2 separate regions of the Homo sapiens genome follow, and region 1 is linked to region 2. The links are contacts of gene promoters, found by promoter capture Hi-C in blood cells and fetal thymus (Javierre and others, 2016). All regions are on one chromosome and are shown on one strand. Each heading gives the region's core, a stretch centred on a gene start or on the middle of the fragment in contact. The rest is flanking DNA. Distances are from core to core; before and after follow the strand shown. Region 1 has its middle 41 kb from the start of ANKRD62. Region 2 holds the start of CIDEA (cell death inducing DFFA like effector a).

Evidence for each region. Contacts are between HindIII fragments. The CHiCAGO score rates a contact against its expected background, and 5 or more counts as called.
Region 1: a contact is called between a fragment that was not itself captured here and the fragment with the promoter of CIDEA in region 2, in 2 of 17 cell types (erythroblasts and megakaryocytes). The highest score is 6.1, in erythroblasts.

Annotation. Positions count from the first base shown.
Region 1 is chr18:12,050,837-12,055,679 of GRCh38, forward strand. No RefSeq gene overlaps it. Among named protein-coding and RNA genes, the nearest start is that of ANKRD62, 41 kb to the right of the region's middle. The HindIII fragment of the contact is 667 bases long and covers 1,430-2,096 here.
Region 2 is chr18:12,252,866-12,257,603 of GRCh38, forward strand. It overlaps CIDEA (cell death inducing DFFA like effector a), which reads left to right and starts at 1,496. Exons shown (of 5, transcript NM_001279.4): 1 at 1,496-1,556. The coding sequence starts at 1,519. It overlaps LOC105371996 (a long non-coding RNA gene), which reads left to right and starts at 2,148. Exons shown (of 2, transcript XR_935158.3): 1 at 2,148-2,566; 2 at 2,714-4,591. RefSeq lists an enhancer at 632-1,238. The HindIII fragment of the contact is 8,350 bases long and covers 1-1,941 here.

The sequences.
Region 1 (4,843 bases), core at 513-3,012, 200 kb before region 2:
CCGTCCCTCCTTGTTTTTCTAGTTTCTTGAAGTAGAAAGTTAATTATCGTTTTGAGGCCTTTCCTCTTTTCTGAGGTTAACATTTAGTGCTGTTAATTTCCCTATCAGCAGGGCTTTATTCAATTCCATGAATTTCTAAAATTTATTTTGAGGCTTTTTCTTTGATCCAAATATTATTTAGAAGTCTGTTGTTTCATTTCCAAGTGGTTGGATATTTTGCTGTTGTCTTTCTACTATGAATTAATTCATAGTTTGATTCATTTCATTATGGCCAGAAAACACACTCGGAATGATTTCAGTTCTTTTATACCTGCTGAGGTTGGTTTATGGCCCAGGATATGGTTTATCTTCCTGAATAGTCCATGAGCACTTGAGAAAAAGTGTATATTTTGCTGTTGGGCACTGTTCCGTAAATGTTGCTTCTACCCTATTGGTTGATGGTGCTCTCCTGTTCTATGTCTGCTAGTAATTTAACGCCTAGTGATTCTACCAACTGCTGAGAGTGAGGTGGTCAGACTTACAACTAGAATTTAAAATGTGCCTATTTCTCCTTTCAGCTCAGTCAGTTTTATTTTGTGTACTTTGAGGTTCTTTTGTTTGGTGGGGACATATTTAGGATAACTGCATTTTTGTTGGATTGATACTTTTATCGTTATATAGTGATCTTTTTGCCCACGAGTTTTCTTTGCTCTAGAGTCGACTTTATGTGATATCAATGGGGCCACTCTTACTTTGATTTGAATAATGTTTGTATGGTATATCTTTTTCTATTCTTTATCAACTCATGTTGTTAACTATGTTATGAATTTCCTATAAATATTTTAGAATTATGTTTCTTGTTCTTTCCACTCTGTCAATTTGTATTTTGATACACATTGATTATTTACATTTAAGATAAATATTGCTATGTTAGGCTGCTATTTTATTTGTTTTGTTTTCTCGGTTTTTCATTCATCTATTACCATTTTCTTATTTTCCTGTTGGTTATATCAACATTTTTTAGATTCCATCTTGTTTATTTGCAGTGTTTCTAAGCACAATACTCTTTATCGTTTTCTTAGCAGTTCTAGATATTAAAGTGTGCATATGTAACTTATCACAGTCTATTAGTCAGCATTTTACCACTTCAAGTGAAATGTAGAAAGCTTCATTCTACTTAGATCCCTTTACCCTCCCCCCTTTTAAATAGAATTAAGTATTTCCTCTACATACAGAGCATTTTTCTCCAAACATCAAATATGATGTCAGAAACTCATGAGAAACAGATTCTATTACATTTCCCCCTATTTCTGCCAACCTCCAATGTTCTTTCTTTCCTGTGTTCCCAGCCTTCCTGCGTTATATACTTTCTATTTAGAGAACCTCCTCTAGTCATCTTTTTAAAGGTAGGTTTGCTAGCAACATTTTCTCTTAGTTTTCCTGTCTGGTAAGCTTTTTATTTCCCTTTGTTCATGAATATAGTTTCAAAAGATAGAGAATTTTGTTATGGTTCTTTTCTTTCAGTATCTGAGAAAATGTCCTACACTTCCTTCTGGCCACCATGGATTCAGATGAGAAATCTGCCATTCTTTTATGTAGGGAATGTGTTATTTATCTCTGGTTACTCTGAAGATTTTGTCTTTAGTTTTCAAAAATTTAATTATGATTTGCCTTCACCATGGATTTATTTAAAATTATCTTATTTGATGTTATCTCAGATTCTTGAATGTGTAGTTTCATAACTTTTGCTAAATTTGGGACATTTTCAGCCATTATTTTTTAAAATACTTTAAATACCTCTCTCCTTTCCTTCTGGTACTCTGATGTTACAAATATTCGTTATATGGTTATCACCCCACTTTCTAAATATTGAGAGAATCAAATCTCGTCTCATTCCCTTTAGGCCTTTCGGTTTTGTCCAAGCCACCACAATCACTCAGGAGGGAAACGACCACAGCTCCTTAATGAGCTCTATATGTTATGCCCTGCCTAGTATTTTCTCTATAGAGAAAATATACAGAAATATAGAGAAAACTCCCATACAAACATAAACCAGACGTTGCTCATTTGTTGAAAATCTACCACTAAATTAAGAATAAAATGAATTTACTGAATAAAGCTTACGATAGGCTCACCTTTGGAGTCTACTGCCTCCTGACATCACCTCCTGCCTTCTCCCTTCAGCCACTGCGACTTTTTTTGTTATTCCTCAAAACCACCAAGCACATTCCTGCCCATGGCTAGCAGCTGCTGTTACCCCTGCTAAAAAGAGGCAGAATCCTCATGTCTCACAGTCATTTCAGTCAAATTTCTGCTCTTCTGTTGATCTCAGTAAAGTTTCCCATGACTATTCCTTCAAGAAGCCCACTCAGTCTAATCTTGCTTTATTTTTTTTAATAGTCTTTAAAACCACAGAACATTTAATATACATGAACATCTGTTTATGTGTTTAGTGCTACTTCTGTGAATTCATTTAGAGGCAAAAAATTATCAAGTCTGCACAACATACCTGAAACGATTATAATTTCTGGAAATACTAAGATTACTAAAAACCTTCTTGTATTCATGGAGCATAAAGTCTGGTAAGAAAATATGTTACAATGGTGAAAATACACAGAAGATTGGCTAATTCTATAAATAAGGAAGTAAGTTGGTTCTGTTTTGAGCTTCACTGAGGAAGCACAGCTGTTGGTTGAAGTATTAGTATGCTGTGTCCTTCATAAGCACAGAGCCATGGCACAGGCAAAGGTGGGGGCCTCCAGCACGTAAAAAATTAGCAAAAGGGCAAACAGCACAGGAGATGAGAATATGGCCTGGTGCCTTCATGAGAAAAATGGCCAGGGAAGTATTCAGGGAATGGGCTACAGAGCAACAGACTCCAAAGCATTTGATCATTTACTATTTTCTAGAATATTATTCAGCATTACAGATTTATATTTAAAAATTATAAAAATAAATAATAAATTCATTTATTATAAATAATTCTTATTTGGATTTTAAAATGAAGAAAACAGCCTAATATTTTATTTATTTTATTGCAATATGTATTCTGGGTTCTAATCCTTTAATTCAGAGACAATAAGGATGTGTAGAAAATGGAAAGATTTTTGAACTGTTATACTTGAAATTTCTGCAGAGTATATAGGAGATGACCAGTTGGATCTTTCTGAAGATCCTCTAAGTGTACGCCTCTTCTAGGGATCACTGCTATGGAAAATGGAGAGCAGAAGGTGAGACGTAAGCATAGAATGAAATCACATTGCCAGGTTTCCTCTATAGAAGCAATTCTCTTGAGAGAGGAGGGAATAGATAAAGTATAAAACAAGACCCTTTACATAAACTACTGTAGTTGAAACTGGGATGAAAATAGGGCACTGATAATAGAAGACAGAGAGCAGCAAAACGTGGGAACCAATTCATGGAGAGGAAAAAATGTTTCCTCAGGTGATCCCCATGAACAGTGGCTCAGATACTAGAGTCACAAAGTAAGCCAGGAAAATCAGGGAAAAATAGATTAAACACAGTATTCCAGCAAGATGGGTCTTAAATATACTAAATTCGAAGCATAATATGGAGATCAAGAATGAAAATAAGGATTTGAGAGACATTGATAATTTAGTGGTGTTCAAGCCCATCAAGAGTGAATCAGAAGGTTGTGAGGGAACTGAGAAAAGAAAATAATCAGGAATAGAATCTGAGGGTAAATTGGCTTTTAACAGGCTTAAAAAAAGAATAGGCCATGGAAACCATGATGGAATTTTCTGAAATGTGGAAATATAGGTAACAATAAATAGTTTTAAAAACCAAGAGATGATCATAGGATCATATCAGTAGATGCAGAAAAGCATGAGAAAAAACTCTTGGCTAACTAGAAATAGAAAGGAATTTTCTAAATGGTAAAACGATGTCTACAAATGTCTACAGCAAACATCAGTACTTAGTGGTGAAATATGGAAAGTGTTTAACTAAAAAACTAAGACCGAGATAAGGATGCCTGCTATCTCCAATTTTATTCAATATTATTAAAAGTTCTTACAATAATAAAGTAAAACAATTATGTACACAGAAAGATACAAATAAAAATATAGTTTTAGAAACAGATTATGAATTCAATACAACAAATGTTTGGTATTTCTAGTTAAGGTAGTGTGACATAGGTGTAAGGATTTTCAAATGCATCAACAGAACAGGAAAGAGAGAGTTCAGAAATAGATCCACATGGATATGGACACTTGATTCATGACAAGGTTTCAGAAAAATAATAATTTCAATAAATTGTTCTAGGTTCATTATAATGAGATTTATTGCCATCTTAAGTGTAAGCAAAATCCATCTTAGACAGTGTACATATCTAAATTTGGAAATTAAAGCAAAAAGTTTTAGAAAATGCCATAAAAAGTTTTTCTTCATGACTTCAGAATAGGCAAAGACTTCTTAAACAGGGCACAAATTACATCAACCATACTCTATGAAAATTAAGAACTCATTTTATCAAAAGATAAACAGAATAAAAATGCAACCCAGAGTGGGAGAAGATGTTCAGAAAACACATATCAAAGAATTCCTATTCCGAGCATAGAAAGAAATTTATCCTTAACACAGTATGAAATTATCCCACTCTTACCTAGCAGAGAAATAAATTGTATAAACTAATGATAGAAGTAGGCCGTCTCAACAGCCAAACTGACAGCAAACATTTCAAGAGAAACTATGAAAGTCAGAAGACAGTGCACAAATTTTGAACAGGTAACTTGTAAATGAGAAAATCAAAATGTAATGACATTTTAAAAAGTCAAAAAGGCAACCAGAAAATTCTAAACCTTTCAAGGACACTCTTCTAAAATAAATATATTTTCCAAATAAA
Region 2 (4,738 bases), core at 246-2,745:
TTTTTGTGTAGAGATAGTAGTCTCACAGTGTTACCCAGGCTGGTCTCAAATTCCTGGCTTCAAGCCATCCTCCTGTTTTGGCCTCCCAAAGTACTGGGATTACAGATGTAAGCCAGTACCCTCAGCCCTGTTCTTTCTATGTATCTCTATATTTGAACTTTTTCACAATAAAAAGGTTAGAGGTAAGTTGACCTGAATTGATTGGACCCATTTTCTCATCCATCACATTGGGGCTGTGAGTGGGAGGGGCAGTGAATGACCTCCTAAAGCTGTGTCCGCTCAGTGCCTCTGGGGGAAGCTGCCCCCTGTGAGCCTGGAGCTGGGTGTTCCCAGCAGGCGGAGTCCTTGACTCTGGAAGGCAATTGCCTTTGGCTTCAACAGTCCTGCAAGTCACAAGGCTTGTTGACCACGGTGACCCTTTCTGAGAGCCAGCGGAGGAAGAGGGCGGGCATAGGGTCAGGTCTTAAGAGATCAGGTCAGTCTGCTCAAACCAGGTGGGCTCAGGAGGAGCCGGCGAGGGTCCCGCTGCAGCTCCCGAAACGCTGTTTCCAGGCGGCAGTCAGCAGTTGGGCACGAGAGGATATCCTAGCAAGCCTCCATCCCAGAAAGTTACACCTCTTACTGCCCGAGTCCCACCCCTCAACACTGAGCCCACCTCTTCAGTCCTGTAGTGAGGGGTTCTGGGAACCCCTTGTAACTGCCCGCCTTCCTCGGAGGTCTCAGAGGCCCTAATTGCGTCTTCCGATGGGAACAACCATGAGAGCAGGGTGTGGACGGAAGTCCCCCAGCCCCAGCGGGGTTCACTCTTTGCCTCCTCACTCTGCGAGGGTCCCTTACTACAGCTAAAAGGCAATTCATGCAGTCCAAAGGCTCCTTTCCCCTCCCGTTCTGCATGCCCTTCTCACTGTCCCCAAATGCTCATGACATGGCCTTGAGAGCAGCGCAGCGGGCAGGAAGCCCAGGCGCCTCGGAGAACCTGAAGGGCTGCAGGTCCCGGTGTCTGCGGCAGCTTCCGCATCCCTGCAGGGAACCAGCGGCTCGCTGAGCCTGGGGCTGGGCTCTGGGGGACTCCAGAGCTGGAGGCAAGTGGCGCTCACATCCGTCTCCTCACCTGCCCCACCCGTGGCCTGGGTTTAAAATCCACATACCCGTCTTTCCGCGGCCAAAGTGATGCTGCCAGGATTGGTTATGACCCCAACTGCCCCGACCCCCAGAAGTGCAAAACGAACAGGCTGGCAAGTGACCAAAAGAGACCCGGGGAGCATCTGGGCTTCCAAGGTCCTCGGTACGGCCCAAGGCAGCGAAGGACGCGCGGCTCCAGGCTGCGGGAGCCAGGACGACCGGGGGCTCCCAGAGCGCGAAGTCGCGATCCTCGGCGGTGGAGAGCTCGTGCCAAAACGTCCTCCCCTGCGCCAGTCAGGCCTTCGCGGGGCTGGCAGGCGGGCGGGGGCGGGGCCGCCGCACTTTAAGAGGCTGTGCAGGCAGACAGACCTCCAGGCCCGCTAGGGGATCCGCGCCATGGAGGCCGCCCGGGACTATGCAGGAGCCCTCATCAGGCGAGTGCCCCGCGTCCCCCTGATTGCCGTGCGCTTCCAATCGCCTTGCGTTCGGTGGCCTCATATTCCCCTGTGCGCCTCTAGTACCGTACCCCGCTCCCTTCAGCCCCCTGCTCCCCGCATTCTCTTGCGCTCCGCGACCCCGCGCACACACCCATCCGCCCCACTGGTGCCCAAGCCGTCCAGCCGCGCCCGCGGGCAGAGCCCAATCCCGTCCCGCGCCTCCTCACCCTCTTGCAGCTGGGCACAGGTACCAGGTGTGGCTCTTGCGAGGTGCGCGGGCGTCTGCAAACCAGGTGACAGCTGGCGAGTGGCTGCATGCATCTCTGGCCGCTGCTGCAGTCGCGGGCGCAGAAGAGGGTCCGGTCCCAGGAACCCCGAGCAAAGCTTCCGCGATGCGAGGGGACCGGGCTTCTGGGGGTCCTGGAAATCACAACGGGAGCTGGGCGCGGGAGGGGCCCAGGCTTGGCCCCTCCTGGAAGCGCGGGCTCTGGTCTCCGAGGGGAGGCCCCAACCGTCCGGCGGAGCCCTCCAGGTTGGTGGTGCTGGGAGAAGCGCTCCTCCTTGCCTCCGGGTCCAAGGGCGGAGACGCTGCCTGGGGAGCAGGGGGGACAAGGGGCGGGTGGACCCTGAGGAGTCTTCCCTGCGCTTCGCACCCGCTCGTGGTCGAACAGGCAGCATTGGCTATTTTCCTGCTTGGGTTAATATTCATATCCCAACAGACCCAAGCCAATTCTTGGTAAAATCCTAAGTCATTGCGTGGCAGCAACTGTAAAGTAAGGTCTAAGAGGGAGATCGTGTTTCTCTGAAGATCAAGTACCTGGAAAAGGATAGAGAACCATTTGCGGGCTTGAAGGTGCAGGCGTTCAGCGGCGCCGGGTCCCACTGTGTGTGCTACGTGTGGCGGGCAGAGAGACTACATGTGTGAAAGGGAGCGGTCCGGCTACGAAACGCAATCTATGAGCTTCCAATCCCGGGTTCTTAAATGGGAGCTGTTGTAGACACTGCAGGTTAGAAGCATCTTTCTCTTTAAAAATAAGCCCACAGTACAAGTCGGGGCGGTGGCAGGGGGACGCTGAGAAACACCTGCTTCGTGTATGGTCATTAACACGCTTAGGCCTAAAGGTCAGGGCCCTGTATCTTTTGCGTTCTTCCAGAACCATCCACACCACAGTCCCACTTCCAGGAGGGGAGGTCTTAGCAGTTTGGAATGCGTCCTTCCAACCACTTTTCCAGTGAATTCACAACACACCCACTGTTCCTCCGGAGCATGGGGGAAGGAGGTGTGGGCTGACTCGCACTAACCAATCCTGGTTGGCCTCTGAGCAGGATTCAGGCTGAGCCTGTCCCTGCCTCTGACTATTATAACAGCTCACCAAAATCCAAAATGCATCTGTGTGGGGTCTCTGTGAGGTCGTGTGAAGTGGAAGTGACTTGCTTATGAGCTGTTGACAAATGAAACATTGGGAAACCTTGAGTCTCCTAGGACACATTCCTTCCAGCTTGGCTCATCCCAGGAGTGAATGACTCTACCTGTTATGGACAAGCTGTTGCTGCAGTTCTTTGAAATCTACCTGCTTCCAGGCTGAACTACTGTCATTCTGTGAAATCTACCTGCTCCCAGGCTGAACTACTGTCATTCTGTGAAATCTACCTGCTCCCAGGCTGGACTACTGTCATTCTGTGAAATCTACCTGTTACCAAACTAAACTGGAAGAAAACAATCTGTAATTCTTGTTGAAGGGAAAACACCTTTTCTTCCCTGCCCCTCTCTAAAACCCTGTCCGGGCAAAAGAGCCAGAGGCCAGGTCCTAACATATTTGCTAATTGTGCTCTTGCTGGACTTCGGCTTCCTCTCAGGGTTCCTTAATTTAAACCAGGTCCAGGATGTCATAATTCTGTCTTTATTAGTAACTACATTTTACCAAGGAAAGAACCGAATCAATGTGCACAAAAATTTTTAAAAATCAGGTACTTGTAGTCAGTGGTGAAACCTTAACCCAGGCATTTGTTAGTCAGCTAGAATCGTTAGGGGCCTTGGTCCTGAGGAAAGCAGCCTGAGGTCTCACAACAAAGCTCCAGACATCAAGGAGGTCCACATGCAGGTTGACTATCACAGACAAAGTCTGCTCTGTTCCTGTGTTCTGCCAGTGATAACATTCCTGCCAAACGCTGAAGTTGTTATGAAGCTGGTACATGTTATAAGCTTCGTGTGAAATGGCTGCTTTCATAGCTATCTAGCACATTTTTCCTTTCCTTGAACAAGGAACTCTAGGTTTTGTGCTGCTATTTCAGTACAAATTTCACCAGTCTTCTTAGTGACATTAGTAAGGAATTAAGTATGCTACAAGTCAATCTCTCAGCTTTCTGCTTCTTGAATTTAAATTCTTATTTTAACGAAACTGCAAAGTGTTCAAAGACTTCATGGTCATGTATTGAACACTTGATAATGTCAAGCCTTTAGGTAGCTTGCGAAGAACTGAGCCATGAACCAGGCAGTCCTTGTCGGGGCGAGTTTATCTGGGGGGTAGGTGTGCTCCCACCTGCATATGTCACGTCCAAGAGCCCTAGGGGAGCCGGGCAGCAGGAAGTCTCGTCAAGGCAGCACTTGCTTCCCTGCTTCCTGCCACTGACCCCACCATCCTCTGACACTGTCTCTACAGCTCAGGGACTCTTCTCCAGGCCTGTGGAGCACTTTCCCAGCCCTCCCTTCCTTCTCTGCGTGGCTGTGCTTGACCTCACACTTCCCTCCTTGGCATTCCCTGCTGCTCTTGGTGACAGTGCTCGGTTGGCTTCTGTCCAATTCCTGTGTACTGCTTCTTCCTCCCACGGTGGCTGCCTCTTTTTCTTCCTAATGATGAGATGCAGAGTTCCCTCAGCCATCACTGCCCCCTGAATATTCCCAGGCACTATTTTACACAGCCTGTACTGCTGCCCCCTCACCCATGACACCAAAATATTTCACTTTGAGGAAGACCTTAATACTGGGCCCTTTTCCTCCATAGGTGGCATGTAAAGAAAGCTTTTTAATTCTCTGTACGGCTCAGGTTTGTTTTACTGGAGAAGAGTTCAGGTCTACTGTCAGTCTGTGGCTTGTTGGTGTATTTCACACACTTTTGGAAGTTGGCGGCGCCCTGCCTCCCTCGGGGCAGAATACAAAACCTTCCCTTCCCACCTGTTCC